Regions from separate parts of the Homo sapiens genome. Here region 2 is linked to region 1. Evidence: promoter capture Hi-C in 16 types of primary human blood cells and fetal thymus (Javierre and others, 2016). All regions are on one chromosome and are shown on one strand. Each heading gives the region's core, a stretch centred on a gene start or on the middle of the fragment in contact. The rest is flanking DNA. Distances are from core to core; before and after follow the strand shown. Region 1 holds the start of KLF8 (KLF transcription factor 8). Region 2 overlaps NBDY (negative regulator of P-body association).

Region 1 (3,565 bases), core at 845-3,344:
TAAACTGCTTAATGTCTTTCACACACTTGAATCTAAGAGAAAACTTTTCAGCATTGCTCAAAACAGTGCTGTAGTGGTAAGAATCCTATATTGGATAATACTCCCCAAATTTTATACATTGAGAAACAAAGCCTCCAAGGAATAAAGTAAATTTTTTAAATGAAGGCATAGAGAGTTGTACACTTCTCTGTATGATTCCATCTCAATATATCTTACCTTGTAAGCTTGGCAGGGGTGCAGGTCGTGGTGAAGAGATATAGTGAGATAGAGAGTTATTTATGAAACCCCTACTACAGGGACATTCTTTTATGAAACAAATACATATGCATGTGTATTTATTTAACCTGTCACTAAGTTTCCACATCTGTAAAATGGGGATAGCAATGTCTACCCATAGGATTGTCAGAAGGATTCAATGAGTTAATATACATAAGAGGCTTACAACAGAGTTTAGTACATAGTTAATGCTCAATAACTATTATTATTGTTAATAATAATATAACTTGGCATCCAAGTTACAGAAATGAGATCGCCTGGTGCTTCAGCTCAAGGACTTTATAGTTTAGTAGGGGGAGGCAATTATACCAACAAATATGTGCCCCGAGGTAGAGAAGGGCACAGAGGAAGCAATGGTCAGTTTTGCCTGAAGAAATTAAGTAAGGAGGGGAGATGACCTTGAGTTAGTCCTTTCAAGAAAGTGGACAGATTCATTGGAAGGACATGCAAGAAAAAAAAAGGTGGACAGAGAGCTTAGTCTATTTCAGTCAGAGAAAGTAAAGCAACCCAAGGCATAGAGATTGGAAACAGCTTGGAATTCCCAGGGATTTGTAATCCAGGTAAAGCCCAGGAGAACAGCAAAATCTCTGCTGCTTGAGAGGCAGACAAAGGCCAGATCACAGCAGGTTAAAGGATGAGTTCCAGGGTGCTGCCTTGGATGTATGGTGGTGCCATTCAGGTAGTTGGTGAACTACAGGAGGAAGAACAGAGTGTTTTGGGGAAAGGAAGGTAGATGAGATGCACAGAAGACATTCAGGCAGAAATATCAACTAAGTAAGTAGACCTATGTGTTCGAAAGTACTGGGCTGAGGCCTTCCGTTTCCTTATTTTTTTAAATAAAGGGCACAGAGAATATAACAGTACCTAGTTCCCAGGGTTGTTATTGGGACTAAATGGGGAAATGTTGAATGTAAAAGCACCTGGCTCAGGGACTTGCCCATATTAGGTGCTGAATACATGGCAGATATTATTATTTCTCCTGTCTCTTTGCTCTTCCTCCCTCTGCTTTGTTTCTTGTCTCTCTTCTTTTTCCTCCTCTTTAAAAGAATTGTGGTAGGGAAGAGGCACTGAAAATGGGCTGTGGTTGCTTGTGACTTCCTGGCCTCCCATTAAAATGAGCTAGAGAGAGACTTTCAGGCAAGCGTAAAGAAATCCTGGAAACATGGCTCCTATCCTGTGGATTCAGCTTTACGGGGATCTTCGCCAATGCCTGGCTGAGAGGCGGTCTCAGGGGGTTGAGAACTCTATTCTTAGAGGTCTGGTATCTGGGAGACTGAGAAAGCCTTTCTTAAGTCTCCCTGCTGGGCCACGCTGTATTCACAGATCATCTTCAACTCCTTCTTCTTCCCCACCTACTCCTTCGCCCTCACCTCCTTGGCTTATCTCTTGCTAGAAAATGCACCAAGCTCCAATCTCCGTTCCTTTTAGCTTCCTCCCTGAGAAGACACTGTGACCTCGCTGTCCTTGTTCGTGTTACCATGGAGAGGTAGGAGGATAAATATCGCTTCCAGTTGTCAGCTTTTTTGTTTTCTCCTTTCCCTCTTAGACAGCCCCCAGCCCCAATCCCAGTACCCGTTTCACCACCCTCCCCTGGAGAATTAGCATAACCGGAGTAAATAGGTAATCAAGCAGTGTGCTTGCAAGCCTTAATTTTGGGACAGATAAGGAAGTGAAATTGATTGGAATTATACCTGCCGCTGCTGGAGGCTGAGGGAGGCGGCCGCCGGAGGCGAGGCCAGCTCTGTCGGCCCAGGGCCCCGCCCCACCCCCTCCTTCCTCCCTCCTCCTTCTCAGCCCCACCCTTCTCCACCTCCTCCCACTTTGCACTCTCCTCTAGCGGCCGCCTGTCCTTTTTAAGGAACTCCACCCTAGGTGGAGTCCTCACGATAGTCACACCTCTCCTTTGGGCCTAGCAGGGCCAGAGAAAGACGGAATCACTCTACCCACTCAGGTTGCCCAGAGAGCACTTTAGGTTCTGACTCGCGTGGGGCGCGAGGTACCCCGTGGGGCAGCTAGGTGCCTCCAAGAAACCCCGCCCCAGAGGACCCGCACGAGTTGCTGCCATTTTTCGCTGAAGCCCCTGCCCTGGGGCTGGTGTTCTTCTCTATGATTCTACCAATCGTCGGCATTTTTTTCCTCCCTTCTTTCTTTTTAGGAAGGCGCTGGGGTGTGCGGCGGCAACGGCGGCGGTGAAGGGATCCTCTTGTGGTATCTCCTCGTGGGTTCCTGTCTTGAAGGATTTCTTCTCCGCCTCAACTTTATGTTCAAGTAGCGCTTTGGGGGTTGGGTTGGTTTTCATAGCCCCCACCCCCGGCCCTCTCCTTTTAAAGGGTGTGTGGAGTTCAGAGGATGGGTGGAGAGCGGGCTTGGCCGGAACTGAATTGGTAGAGGTAAAAGGGGAACGGAGGACCTTAAGCTCTGGCCACTTCGGCCCAGCGAACCCACTTTATTTTTGTCCAAGGAAAAGCTGCAGGGGGGAGGATTCTTTTTAGGAAGTCTACTCTGCCGGCCCCTGATTTTTGGGTTGGATGCTTGAGAGCTTTGTTTCCCTTGTTCCGAGAGTGGCCCAGCTGGGTCTGAATCGACTCCCTCCCCTTTCGACCCCCTCCTCATTTTCCAGCCCGGAGAAATAGGGGAGTGGGGGCCCAAGAACGAGAAGACGAGAACGCGTCGCCCTGCGCTATGTCAGAATGGGGCGGGTGTGAGGGGAACAGCTCTCTTGCGATCAGCTCAGGAGTATGAGCCTCCCGGAGGACGGCATGAGTTCTGGACACTTCAGGAGTCCTCAGCTAGTGACATGGTCGGTAAGTGACTCTGGGACTAATACCCACCCACTCCCACCTCTTTCGTCTAGATTCTATCCCCCTCCCAGTCCCCCTGCTCCCCCCACACACCCCACTTGGGGTTTCAGCAGTGGGGGCGGGAGCGGAAGGTTAAGAACACTATGTGGAATCAAATGAAACTCAAGGGAAAATGACTTTGCTAAAGGGCTGGGCAAAGAAAGGCCAAGAAGGAGAGGAGAGAGCTTGGTGGAAGAAGTGAAAGGGGGCAAGAATGGATGGATTTGTCTAGTCTAGTCTCCCCTGGCTCGGCACTCCCAATACTCCTTAAGCGGTAAGGATTGTCTTTGACTTAACCCCACACAGCCAAAGTCACAACCAGAGAGAACAGGATTCACAAGGCCAAAGCTCCCAGGTAACCCCCTGAAGCCATAGCGGGTACCTAGAGAAGCTTCTGAAAAGAAGGAGGAGGGGACAGTGGTTTAAGGTGCAAAGTTAGGCTATTGGAG
Region 2 (3,489 bases), core at 711-3,210, 530 kb after region 1:
TCTTTGTCCTCTGTAGCCCCTGCAGACCTATTTGTGGATCAAAGCTTTTGATCCGACTCACAAGGGATCCCATCAACAAGAAGCTTCTTGGTGGTGTGTCCTTTCACTGGGATGTCACTGTTGTCTCTTTGTCACTCGTTATGTATGTCACCACGCATTGAGGCACCCATGAACTCTATCCTTCAGGACAGCTGAGGTGGCATGAAGCTGCCATTTCTTGTTCTTTTTCTCCATCTGGTTCTTCTTCCTCTTCCTCCTCTTCCTCTTTCTTTCTCTTTTCTTTTCTTTTCTTTCTTTCTTTCCACCTCCTCCTCCTTTTTCTTCTTCTTTTCTTCCCTCCTCCTCCTCCTCCTCTCTCTTTTCCTTTCACTTTCAGATCTTGGCGAGACAAATGTTCTATGGAGACTGCTTCTTCTGCTCCTTGGTAATGGGGGATGTCCCTCTGCGTGCTAGGCAAGGAGAAAGCTTCACTTTTGTTCTGAAAGGAGCAGAGATGAAGGTCACATGTTCAGTTCCTCTGGTCCTCTAAAAAACCACCCATGTGTTACTTTTAAGTGAAATGTCATTCTGAATGCACTTCCTACCAGTACCTCACGATTCATCCTTCTACCTTGTTCTCCTTGAAGACGATCTAATAATGTAATCTTGGCCAGTAGGAGCCTCAGCAAGTTTTCCCCCATTTCCTCTCCTTCCAGTCAAGCCATGTGAACACAACTATCCGGATTTCAGTGTATACAGGCAGGCTGTCTCTGCCATGTGCCAGTTTACCCACTCTCACACAGGAAGGCACCCACAAACCATAGACACAGATACACATACACACACTCACTAGGGACCTCAGAAATGAAATCACAAACACACCCGCACACAGAGACACATGCAGACACACACAAACACACACATAGACACACAAACAAGAAACCTCACAGGGGCACAGGGGTGCAGGCCCAAGCATTCTCCCACACAGACACATACACACCACCACAGGCACGAGACTGCCTACAATTTCTCCCACACAGGTTCTAAATGTGCAAAGGGAACAGGAGACAGGGGAGAATTCCTGACTCCAGGCCTGGGCCATCATGCCATTGATTGATGGGCAACTCTCGCCTTCTCCTGAGAATCAATGTGGGAAGTCTGTTAACAGATAGGATCCAGCAGCTGGTGTAAAACTGGAGCATCCTGGGTCAAGCTGCTTAAAAAGGAACCTCACTTTGTGTTAGAGACAGAGAGAGTTCCCTTGGGAGCCTTGGCCCTGTGTGATGCCATAAGAATCTGTGGTGTGTGGTGGCATTCCCCAGCACCCCTGAGCCACCCTCCTCCCACCCCCATCTGTGTGAAACCCAGGACAGCCTGAGCAGAGTCAGACTTGAGCAAGTTGCTGAGTGTCCTCTCTGAGAGATACTCCTGCTTCAGGCCCTGTGGTTTCCAGTTGAGCAGTCCACCTATTTTGATGACCTCCATGTGTCAGCCCAAGGCGGTAAACTCTACCTGGAGCTCCAGGCTTTCGTAGGACCCCCAGTCCTGCAGCAGAACCTTGTGTAAGCCAGCTGGGTGACCAGCACCTTGTCCTGGGGCAGTAGCCCTATGATCCTAGTCCTCCTGTGGTGTCCCAGTAATGATCATGTTTTTTGTTGTTTACTTTCTGCACGGGCAAGAGCCATGAAACCTGCAGAGAGCCAAAGGAAGGGCAAAGGCTGGCTCCCTAAACAGGATTCCCACAGGATCTCCAGCCTACTGGTCCTGGTCCTTGGTCACACGGTCCCATGAGTTTGGTGATCAATCTGGGACCAGGTGACTGATTCCTTTCACTCCTCTGTCTTTTTTTTTGTTTCTCTTTCCTCTTTACCTTTTTTCACATGGGAAAAGGCGGAGGCCCTGGAGTTGAAGTGGCAGGGTTACAGTTGTAGTTGGCGTTTGTGGAGCCATACTGCCATCAAGCGGAAACTGTATCTAGAAACCGGAGGCAGCTGGGCACAAGTGCTGGGGAAACCCCACGAGCGCAAAAGAGATGGCGGCATGGAGCCCCCAGGCTGAAGCAGGACAAGAGAGGAACTCCAAGCTGGCCCTTGGCCTGTGCTCATTCCCAGGATGCCTCCCTGGTTCCACAGCTCTCTCCGAAAAAAAGGGCAGGTAGGGGCGACCCACCATGGGTTCCCCTGGTCATCTCCAGGTACTGCTGGTCCTGGGTTGCCACGTCTCCAGTATCCCGAAGCTCCTTTGTTCCCCGGGAGGATCGGGGCCCCCTTGCCAACACGTGGCTCCAGCCAAGGGAACCCCGGAACTCCCCACAAAAGACACCAGAGTAAACGGCCCCCGTCTCGGCCAGTGGCTTCGTTTATGTCCATCTCAACATGGCTGCCGGGCCAGCTCCGCCCTCTGGGCTGACTGGTCTTGGGGCTGCCTGGCTGTTCTGTCCTGGGGCCTCTAGAGTAGTTGCTTCTCCAAAGCGTCCCAATGCCAGGTACACTTCCTTCAAGGGCTCAGAACCCCGGTGGGGGAAACCCAGGCTTAGACATAGTCTAAGCACATCCTCGCTGATCTCTGTTCCTGGCAGAAGGCAGGTGTCCGTGCATCCTGTTGTGTTCAGAAACAACTTCCACTAGATGGCAATGTGGCTCCACAAACAGCAGTCTTGTCTTTCCCTTCCCCCATTTTCTTTCCCTCTTTCTGTTTTTGGTGCCAAAAACCAAAACAAACACCAAAAAAAAAAAAAAAAAAAAGAAACTGGCCTAGGAGCACCCATCTCACCTACAGCAGGGCTTCCCATCTATGTGGTCACTTTGGGGGAACCGGCAACAGTAGGATGGGGTAGGGGTGGGGGCCACAGGGAGCAGGGCAGCTTCCTGGCCCAACAGGCCTCTGTGCCCACGCGGTGCAGACCCGGGCTTGAGGGGCTGATGCTTTCTCCTGGCTGGTGGCTCTTCCTCTGTGAGGCCACAAGAGGCCACTCATAGTGCTGCCAGCTGTCCATCTGAGGCACTTTGCATTGCAGTTCGCTGTCAATCTCATTGCTCACTGATTCTTTGTGTACTTTTGGAGTTTTTCTCCCTTCACTTTTTTCTTCTTCATTCTCTTTACTTTTTCTCCACTTCTGCTCCAGGAGCAGACTGGAAGGCAGGGTCAGCTGGGCGCGGGGACACCGTTAGGGAAAACAGGCTTACTTTTCCTAAGGAAATTAGTAGGACTCTAGCTGACCCCTGCGAGGAGAAATTGGCGTTTCCCTCTCCTTTCTGCCCTGTCTCCATATTGCAGTGGGTGGCTGATTATCTCTTTTCCCTGGTGTCCAATTCCTCCCCGTTTTTCATCTTATTCTTTTTTGGGCGGTCCTTCCCTGCCTTGGCCTTGTAGCCTTGGGGCTTGGTAGCCCCTTGCAGTCAGCTGATGACATCTTCAGGGCAAGGTTCAGCCAGCACCTGTGTTCTCTGTAGCTTCTGCAGGCCTACTTGTGGATCAAAGCTTTTGATCTTACTCAGGAAATACCCCATC

Evidence for each region. Contacts are between HindIII fragments. The CHiCAGO score rates a contact against its expected background, and 5 or more counts as called.
Region 2: a fragment that was not itself captured here is called in contact with the fragment with the promoter of KLF8 in region 1 in 4 of 17 cell types (M0 macrophages, M2 macrophages, M1 macrophages and 1 more); the score reaches 7.3 in M0 macrophages.

What each region holds. Positions count from the first base shown.
Region 1 is chrX:56,230,262-56,233,826 of GRCh38, forward strand. It overlaps KLF8 (KLF transcription factor 8), which reads left to right and starts at 2,095. Exons shown (of 6, transcript NM_007250.5): 1 at 2,095-3,080. The coding sequence starts at 3,074. The HindIII fragment of the contact is 3,283 bases long and covers 223-3,505 here.
Region 2 is chrX:56,762,000-56,765,488 of GRCh38, forward strand. The region is part of intron 2 of NBDY (negative regulator of P-body association); the gene reads left to right. Among named protein-coding and RNA genes, the nearest start is that of NBDY, 35 kb to the left of the region's middle. RefSeq lists enhancers at 1,608-1,657, 1,678-1,797, 1,761-2,262, 2,258-2,617. The HindIII fragment of the contact is 2,994 bases long and covers 464-3,457 here.